Linked DNA regions of Homo sapiens: region 1 is linked to region 2. Evidence: promoter capture Hi-C in 16 types of primary human blood cells and fetal thymus (Javierre and others, 2016). All regions are on one chromosome and are shown on one strand. The core of a region is centred on a gene start or on the middle of the fragment in contact, and the rest is flanking DNA. Distances in the headings are between cores, read along the strand shown. Region 1 has its middle 12 kb from the start of SCGB1A1. Region 2 holds the start of TAF6L (TATA-box binding protein associated factor 6 like).

Region 1 (4,930 bases), core at 567-3,066, 340 kb before region 2:
CGGGGGTTTGGAACTCAGATTTGTTACCCCATCAAGTGAATGGATTCCCAGCTAATCACAAGAGTCTAGTTAACTCTGAAAATACCTGCAGTTATATGCCCATAGCTGTAACTGCCCGGTGGGTTCACCTTGCTCGCTGCCTGGACGGAGCCAATTTATCAAGACAGGGGAATTGCAGTGGAGAAGGAGTAATTCACACAGAGCTGGTGTGTGGGAGACTGGGTTTTATTATTACTCCAAACAGTCTCCCTGAGCATTCGGGGATCGGGGTTTTTAAAGATAATTTGGCGGGTAAGGGCTTGGGAAGCAGGGAGTGCTGATTGGTCAGGCTGGAGATGGAATCCTAGGGGGTGGAAGTGTGGTTTTCTTGCTGTCTTCTGTTCCTGGGGAGGATGGCAGAAATGGTTGAGCCAGATTACCAGTCTGGGTTGTGTCAGCTGATCCATCGAATGCAGGGTCTGCAAACTATCTCAAGCACTGATCTTAGGTTTTACAATAGTGATGTTATCTGCAGGAGCAATCTGGGGAGGCTCAGACTCTTGGAGCCAGAGGCTGCATGACCGCTAAACTAAATTTCTAATCTTGTAGCTAATTTGTTAGTCTTGCAAAGGCAGACTGGTCCACAGGCAAGAATGGGGTTTTTTTTAGGGAAATGGCTATTATCAATTTTGTTTCAGAGTCAAAACATGAACTGAATTCCTTCCCAAAGTTAGTTCAGGCCTATGCCCAGGAATGAACAAGGACAGCTTAAAGGTTAGAAGGAAGATGGAGTCGGTTAGGTCTGATCTCTTTCACTGTCATAATTTCCTCAGTTGTAATTTTTGCAAAGGCGGTTTCACAGCCACCCTGTGTGTGTAACCACGAGGCAGATACCTACAGAGCTTCCTTTAGAGTTCCCTCTTAGGGCTGGGTGCAGTGGCTCAAGCCACTGTGGGAGGCTGAGGCAGGCGGATCACCTGAGGTCAGGAGTTCGAGACCAGCCTGGCCAACATGGCAAAACCCCATCTCTACTAGTAATACAAAAATTACCCGGGCATGATGGCGCATGCCTGTAGTCCCCGCTACAGCTGAGGCAAGAGAATCACTTGAACCCAGGAGGCAGAAGTTGCAGTGGCAGAGGTTGCAGAGGCGGAAGTTGTAGTGAGCCGAGGTTGCAGTAAGCCGAGATCACACCACTGCACTCCAGCCTGGGTGACAGAATGAGACTCCATCTCAAAAATAAAAATGAAAAAGAATTCCCTGTTAGGCCCCTGTCACAAAAGTAGGTACTAATCAGCCCTGGGACAGGATAGAGACTTGATCAGAGGCTCCCTGGGAGCTGTGGAAGGAGGAGCAGGCCTTGGGGCATCAGGAGAGGAGAAAGGGTTGCTGGGCTGGGGGATCTCCTGACCTCCTGACCTTAGGCGTCCAGTCGGTCTCTGAGTCCATCTCAACTTACATGGAATTGATCCCTTTATTTTTTTTTATTTATTTATTTTTGAGATAGGGTCTCACTCTGTCACCCAGGCTGGAGTGCAAGGTTGCAATCACTGCTCACTGCAACCTCCGCCTCCCAGGCTCAAGCAATCCTCCTCCCTCAGCCTCCTGAGTAGCTGGGATGACAGGCGCACACCACCATGCCCAGCTAATTTTTGTATTTTTTTTCATAGATACGGGTTTTCGCCATGTTGGCCAGGCTGGTCTCAAACTCCTGGACTCAAATGATCTGCCAGCCTCTGCCTCCCAAAGTGTTGGGATTACAGGCGTGAGCCACCGTGCCCAGCCCTTATCCCCTTCTCTTGACCCTATTGCCAATTCCAAGCCTTCACCATCTGTGACCTGGATCATTGCAAACAGCCTCTACATTAGTTTCTATGGCTGCTGTAACAACTTACCACAGACTTAATAACTTAAAAACACACAAATTTATGATCTTCTCGTTCTGGAGGCCAGATGTCTGAAATGCATTTCACTGGGCTAAAAACCAAGGTGTTGGCAGGCTGCATTCTTTCTGGAGTCTCCAGGGGAGAATCTGTCTCCTTGTTTTTTCCATTTTCTAAAGGCCACCCGCATTACTTGGCTCATGGCCCCTTCCCCATCTTCAAAGTCAGCAGGGCAGCCTCTGCAATTCTCTCTCCGACACTGATCTCCTCTTCTGCCTCCCACTTCCATTCATAAGGATCTCTGTGATTACACTGGGCCCATCAGATACTCCAAAACAACCTCCCCTCTCACGGTCAGCTGATGAGAAACCTTCATCCATGTGCAACCCTAATTCTCTCTTGCCAGGTAACCTAACACATGCACAGGGTCTGGGGATTAGGACGTGGAGATCCTTGAGGGGCCGTTAATCTGCCTCCTAAATAGTCTCTAAGATTTTAGTCTTACTTCCTTCCCATGATTGCCAAAAATCAAACAGGAAGTTCATGCTTTTGCTTAAAATCCTTCCCTCTTCCTGGTCCCCTGTTGGATAAAGTCCAAACCCCTCACCCATCATCAAAGGCTCCTGGAGATGGTGGCCCTGCTTCCCACTGTGGCCTCAAATCCTGCTGCTTCCCACCTACCCTTCACTTTGAGGGTGCAGCAGTGGATGATGCTCGGAAATAAAACTGCCCTCTGAGTAAGGCTTGTCGATTCATGTCGAGGCACAGACGTTCACATTTGAAACAGGCAACAAATCCATGCCATTCACACTTCCACACTTTTGCAGAAACAGTTCCCGCTAACTGAAATGCTTTCCCTTCCCAAAGTCCCTGGAAGAACCAAACTCCATCCTTCATGACTCACTTGGGACATGCTTATACTAAAAATTGTTTCATTATTTATCTAAAATGCACACTTAACGGGCATACTGTATTTCATTTGCTAAGTCTGGCCCCCTTCAGATTCTTTCACGACTTAGTCTGTGGGCTCTTTCTCCCTGTTCTCCCTACCCAGCACTTTGTGCCCTGAGGTTCAGGGGCTCTTTCTGCTGCTGAGCTTCCACGCCCCTAATCTGGGGCATGTATTTACAGTGGGATAAATCATGTATTTATCTTACTATAGCATGTTTGCTTCTAACTGTTGCCTTCTCTAGAATGTGAGTCCTATGAAGGCATGATTCACATTTTAGTTATCTTGCCACTCATTGTAGAAAAATTAGAAAACCCAAGAAAGCAAAAGGAAAATAAATCATTCGAATGTACATCTGCGTCAAGTACTTGATCAGAGCAGCAGGATTCTACTTTTGACCCTCTAGTGGAAAAATTGAAACCAAGGTGGAAGCCAAGACAGTAAATTAAGTATATTACAGGACTCGAGACCTTTTTTTTTTTTTTTTTGAGACGGAGTCTCACTTTGTTGCCATGCTGGAGTGCAGAGGTGCCATCCTGGCTCACTGCAATCTCCACCTCCCGGTTCAAGTGATTCTCCTGCCTCAGCCTCCCAAGTAGCAGGGACTACAGGCGCATGCATGCCACCATGCCCAGCTAATTTTTGTATTTTTAGTAGAGACAGGGTTTCACCATATTGGCCAGGATGGTCTCGATCTCTTGACCTCATGATCTGCCCGCCTTGGCCTCCCGACCTTTTTATTCCATCTCTCTGCTTCCAGGAGGACCATATCAATAACCAAGTGGCCCCTGAGACATGACCCTAAACCCCCAAAAAGACCTCCCATTACTCTGTGGCTGACCCATTTGAGGAATTCATATGTTCTGTGGGCAGGAAGTTCTAACCAAAATGCAAAAAAAGTTTGAAGTTCATCGTATTCCGTTGTTCCCTGCTTTTCTGTTTCTAGGTAAAGATGAGATTAGTTGGCCAGGCACGGTGGCTCACCCCTGTAATCCCAGCACTTTGGGAGACTGAGGCAGGTGGATCACCTGAGGTCAGGAGTTTGAGACCCACCTGACCAACATGGAGAAACCCCATCTCCACTAAAAATACAAAAATTAGCTGGGCGTGGTGGCGGGTGTCTGTAATCCCAGCTACTTGGGAGGCTGAGGCAGAAGAATCGCTTGAACCCAGGAGGCAGATGTTGCAGGGAGCCGAGATCACGCCATTGCACTCCAGCCTGGGCAACAAGAGCAAAACTCTGTCTCAAAAAAAAAAGAAAAAAAAAAGATGAGACTCGTTTATGAAACTGGATTCCTCTTAAACCACAAATCCATCTGAATGGTATTCATTTCATGCTTGATAAATTTCAAGACCTGATTATTTTGCAATATCAATGTTGATAAAAGTTAAATATTAACCAGATAATCGAAAGTTATCCTTTAACGTCTGCTACCATAGAATAAGAATTTCAGACTGACCCCCAGTGACAGGAAACTTTGAAAAGGCGTGTGCCTGAAGAAACGTATCGATTGGCATGTTAAAAAATACATGTATTGGCCGGGCATGGTGGCTCATCCCTGTAATCCCTGCACTTTGGGAGGCCGAGGCAGGTGGATCACTTGAGGTCAGGAGTTTGAGACCAGCCTGGCCAATGTGGTGAAATCCCGTCTGTACTAAAAAAAAAAAAAAAAAAAAAAAATACAAAAATTAGCCAGGCGTGGTGGCAGGCCTGTAATCCCAGCTACTGAGGCCGAGGCACGAGAATCACTTGAACTCAGGAGGTGGAGGTTATAGTGAACTGAGATCATACTACTGCACTCTCCAGACTGGGTGACAGAGTGAGACACTGTCTCAAAAAAAAAAAGATTACATTTCTCCTTTTTTAGATAAATAAAGAGGAAAGAGAAAGGGGAGGGGGAGCAAGGGGTGTAAGAGGGAGAAAGAAAAGAGAGAAAGGAGAGAACGCGCGGGGGTTCTCGGTCATGTGGAGGCAGCAGTCATGTGCTGACTCTGAAAACTGAAAAAAAAAAAAAAATAGTGACAGCAAGCTGCTGCCTGTGGCCAACTCTCCCAGGGATTCTCACAACGCCAGGGAAGGGAACAGAGAAAACCACAAAGGTTGACACAAGAACAGATG
Region 2 (4,848 bases), core at 647-3,146:
TTGCGCCACTGCACTCCAGCCTGGGCAACAGGGTGTTACTCCGTCTCAAAAAAAGGAAAAAAGAAAAAAAGTCTGACACCAAAGCCATCATAGTTCTTGCCAGGCATTGGGTGTGTGGAGCGAGCCACCTTTCTCCCATCTGTGGCCATGGAGGTCTCACTACTGCCTTCCCTGGTTCCTGCCTCCACTCAGATTGGGAGCAAATGAGCTCCAGACAGGTTGGATACAGGTTCACTACATCTAATAGGTCCCGGGCAGTCCCGGTCTCCCTCCCATCTTCTAGTGTCTCCAAGGTTGCTGATGGCTGTCCAGAACAGTAAACCTAAGCAAGGAGGTCAGCCAGCTGCCCAGGTCTGGCTAAGCTGACTTCAGGCTCAGTCAGACCTTAGAGGAGAGCGCCCTCTCTCTTTCCCTTAACGCACAGGTGGGCAGACACTTGAAACCACTTCTAATATGGTTCTGAATATGAGTGGAAGAGACTCAGCAGGGTCACATTCTCCTTAGGTGGGGTTGCCATGGCAACCACAGTCGCATCCATCTGGCTTTGCCAGCTCGGGTCCCAGGGGATTTTCTTTTCCAGCGGCAGCAGCATCTAACCCTGAGAGGGGGAAAGAGAAAAAATGTGTACATTCATGCTCCCTTGCAGAATGTTCCCACAGTTCACTCAGTGCAAACTACCCCATCTTGGGTGAACTTAAAGGAATTCACTGTATGCCTTGTGACATGTGAGGGAAAGAAAGTTTCTCTCTTTTTTTTTTGAGACGGAGATTCACTCTTGTTGGCCAGGTTGGAGTGCAGTGGCGCGATCTCGGCTCACCACAACCTCCGCCTCCCGGGTTCAAGCAATTCTCCTGCCTCAGCCTCCCGAGTAGCTGCGATTACAGGCATGTGCCAACACACCCGGCTAATTTTGTATTTTTAGTTGAGATGGATTTTTCTCCATGTTGATCAGGCTGGTCTTGAACTCCCGACCCCAGGTGATCCCCCGCCTCGGCCTCTCAAAATGTTGGGATTACAGGCGTGAGCCACCGCGCCCGGCCGGGAAAGAAGTTTAACCTCCAACTCTGCCAGGGACTCTCACAGACATTAATTTACAACAACCCTGTGAAGTGCGCATTATTACTCCATATTAGGTAATTTGCCCAAAGGCAGTGTCAGAATTTTAACCCAGGTCGGTCTGATTCCAAATACCATCCTTTACTCACTAAGCCCACTGCTTATCAATTAAGAACTGCCCAAGTAGCTGCTATTGCAGTGGGAGTTGGAGAAAGAGAGCTGTCAGTGTGCGTGTCCAACGGTCATGCAAGGCGAGGTAGGCCAGGGCTTGTATTTGGTTCACAGGCGTGGGGAGAATGCGAAGTAGGTGCAGAAAGAGCAGAACCCTGGAGTCCGGAGCTTGCACGGGATGTTCGGCCGGGTCAGAAGTCCCTTCTGCCTGCCGAGAACACCTACCGAGAGCCCCATCTATCCCTTCAGGAAGGGGAAGTGGCATGTGATGTTGGGGAGGTAGGCCGGGCAGGAAAACTAAGCCAGACACCAAAATCTAAAGCTTTGCTGCAGTCGCGAAAATGCGGGTGCTCAGAAACTCGCGAGCAAACAAGACAAAGAAAATCAAGACGCTGTCTTTGAGACTGTTTATTTCCTCGTTACTATTGTGGTGGTAAAAAAAATAAAATATGCTTATTAAACGTGTGTTAAAACAATACACACCTACTCGCAAACGTAGCAAGAGAGGTTGCTTTAAGAAGCGGGAATCTTCAGCGTCACGTGACCGCCGGTCTCTACAGTCTGTTCACACTGGCCAATCAAGAGCCAGGAAGCCTCCTGGAGGGCCGGAAACTTTCCAAGGCGCCCGCCGACTGGCTGTATTGGGGAGGGCGGGGCCGGGGCCCCGGGAGAGGGAATGAGTGTGAGCTCGTGAGTGGGCGCCGCCGCCACCGCCCCCGCCGCCGTCGTCTCGGTAGCAGCCTTCGCCACGCCGGGGTCTTCAGGTGAGCAGGCCTTGCTCTGGTCCAAGGACTCCCCATTCCCGACGCCGACTGCTTACTCACCAGTCTTGGAGCCCGCACCGCGAGGGCCCGCCCCCTTGGCTGACCACGTGACCCAAGTTCAGTGACCCCTGACCTCCTCCCCCCGCGCACCCCCTCCCCGATCTGGGCTGGGCTAGGCCGGGTGGGAGGATGCGCGTTGCCGAGGCCCGGCCCGCGGAGGTCAGTTCCCACGCCTCCTCTCCAGCGTGACTAGTGGCTGAGGATGCGGAGGAGAGGAGGCTGAGGAGCGGGAGACTTTGGTCACAGTCTAGATTTCGTGTACGGTCATATAATAGGGAAACTCCCTCCGTGCCTTTCGCGCTGGTGGACTAAATGCTCCCATTTTACAGATAGGGAAACTGCAGCTTCACAACGATCTATTGGCGGGTCTAGGGTCACCAAGGGGTGGGTCTCCAATCCATGTCTTTGGGGTGGGATCCAGGCCTTGTTCCCCATACAGCTGGCGGCTCCTGAATGCGGTATAGAGTAAAGATTAGGAGCAAGGGGTTGAGTCCTTGCTCCCCCTCCCTACTTACTCAGTGCTTACTTCATGATCTTGGAGAAGTCATGGAACATTTAGCCTCTGAGGTTTGATTTCCTTGCCTGTGAAATAGACGAAATACATAATAATATCTTATTATTGAGAATATAGTGAAGTAATCCATATAAAGCACTTAGCTGTGTCTCAGGCATAGTACAGTGCTATTCGTGGCCGGGCGCGGTGGCTCACGCCTGTAATCCTAGCACTTTGGGAGGCCGAGGCACCTGGATTGCCTGAGCTCAGGAGTTCGAGGCCAGCCTGGGCAACACGGTGAAACCTCGTCTCTACTAAAAATACAAAAAATTAGCTGGGCATGGCGGCGTATGCCTGTAGTCCTAGCTACTCGGGAGGCTGAGGCAGGAGAATTGCTTGAACCAGGGAGGCAGAGGTTGTAGTGAGCCGAGATCACGCCACTGTACTCCAGCCTGGGTGACAGAGCGAGACTGTGTCTCCAAAAAAAAAAAAAAAGCTCGTCGGGCCAGGTGCGGTGGCTCTCACGCCTGTAATTTCAGCACTTTGGAGGCCGAGGTGGGCGGATCACCTGAGGTCAGGAGTTCCAGACCAGCTTGGCTACCATGGCGAAACTCCATCCCTACTAAAAATACAAAAATTAGCCAGGTGTGGCGGCACAGGCCTGTAATCCCAGCTACTCGGGAAGCGGAGGTTTTAGTGAGCCGAGATCAAGCCACTGCACTCCAGCCTGGGTGACAGAGTGAGACATCAGACATCATCTCCAAAAAAAAAAAAAAAGAATAGTTCTTCTTTCTTTCTTTTAGAAGATCTTTTTTTTTTGTTTGTTTTTGTTTTTTGTTTTGTGTTTTTTTTGAGACTGAGTTTAGCTCTGTCATCCAGGCTGGAGTGCAGTGGTGCAATCTCGGCTCACTGCAGCCTCTGCCTCCTGGGTTCAAGTGATTCTCCTGCCTCAGCCTCCTGGGTAATTTTTTGTATTTTTAGTAGAGACAGGGTTTCACCGTGTTAGCCAGGATGGTCTTCATCTCCTGACCTCGTGATCCACCAGCTTCGGCCTCCCAAAGTGCTGGGATTACAGGCGTGAGCCACCATGCCTGGCCTATAATTACAAATTTTTTTTTTTTTGAGATGGAGTCTTGCTCTGTCGCCCAGGCTGGAGTGCAGTGGTGCGATCTTGGCTCACTACAACCTCCACCTCCCGGGTTCAAGCAATTCTCCTGCCTCAGCCTCCGGAGTAGCTGGGACTACAGGCGCGGACCACCATGCCTAGCTAATTTTTGTATTTTTAGTAGAGACGAGGTTTCACCATATTGTCCAGGCTGGTCTAGAACTCCTGACCTTGTGATCCACCCGCCTTGGCTTCCCAAAGTGCTGGGATTACAGATGAGCCACTGCGCCCGGCCTACAATTTTTTTTTTTTTTTTGAGACGGAGTTTTCCCCTTGTTACCCAGAATGGAGTGCACTGGTGCGATCTTGACTCACTGCAACCTCTGTCTCACGGGTTCAAGCGATTCTCCTGCCTCAGCCTTGCGAGTAGCTGGGATTACAGGCATGTGCCACCACACCTGGCTAATTTTGTATTTGTAGTAGAGATGGGGGTTTTTCTATGTTGGTCAGGCTGGTCTTGAACTCCTGACCTCAGGTGATTCGCCCGCCTTGGCCTCCGAAAGTGCTGGGATTAGAGGCGTGAGCCACTGGGTCCAGCTACAAATTCTTACGACTGGTTTGGAGGCAGAATGCAAGGACATTGGAGGATCTAGGAAGACATCCCTGAGCAAGTGACATTTGAACTGAAATCTGAAGGAGTGAGTAGCAGTTCACTAGACAAAGGGATTGGGGGTGGAGGACAGGGAGGAGAGAGTTCCAAGTGGAGGAAGCAGTGTTCAAAGGTCCTAAAATAGGTGTATTTGAGGAACTGAAAGGAGGACACAGGTGGGAATACAGAACACAAGAAAGTAGGAGATAAGAGGTAAGAGGTATTGCAGAAGTAGGCAGTACATGCAGAGCCTCCAGAGCCATTGTTCAGATTTGTTCTTTATTTCTTTTTTTTTTTGAGACGGAGTCTTGCTCTGTTGCCCAGGCTGGAGTGCAGTGGCGTGATCTCGGCTCACTGCAATCTCCGCCTCCTGGGTTCACGCCATTCTCCTGCCTCAGCCTCCCGAGTAGCTGGGACTACAGGCGCCCGCCACCAAGCCCAGCTAATTTTTTGTATTTTTAGTAGAGATGGGGTTTCACCGTGTTAACCAGGATGGTCTGGATCTCCTGACCTTGTGATCCGCCTGCCTCGGCCTCCCAAAGTGCTGGGA

The links. The method cuts DNA at HindIII sites, captures the fragments that hold promoters and counts their contacts. A CHiCAGO score of 5 or more calls a contact.
Region 1: a fragment that was not itself captured here is called in contact with the fragment with the promoter of TAF6L in region 2 in 3 of 17 cell types (total B cells, naive B cells and naive CD8 T cells); the score reaches 8.6 in total B cells.

The regions. Positions count from the first base shown.
Region 1 is chr11:62,428,618-62,433,547 of GRCh38, forward strand. It overlaps a transcript of AHNAK not described here. Among named protein-coding and RNA genes, the nearest start is that of SCGB1A1, 12 kb to the left of the region's middle. The HindIII fragment of the contact is 7,397 bases long and covers 1-4,930 here.
Region 2 is chr11:62,769,500-62,774,347 of GRCh38, forward strand. TAF6L (TATA-box binding protein associated factor 6 like) reads left to right here and starts at 1,897. Exons shown (of 11, transcript NM_006473.4): 1 at 1,897-1,991. It also overlaps a transcript of TMEM223 not described here. RefSeq lists enhancers at 135-184, 2,347-2,486 and a silencer at 1,747-2,156. The HindIII fragment of the contact is 6,431 bases long and covers 1,548-4,848 here.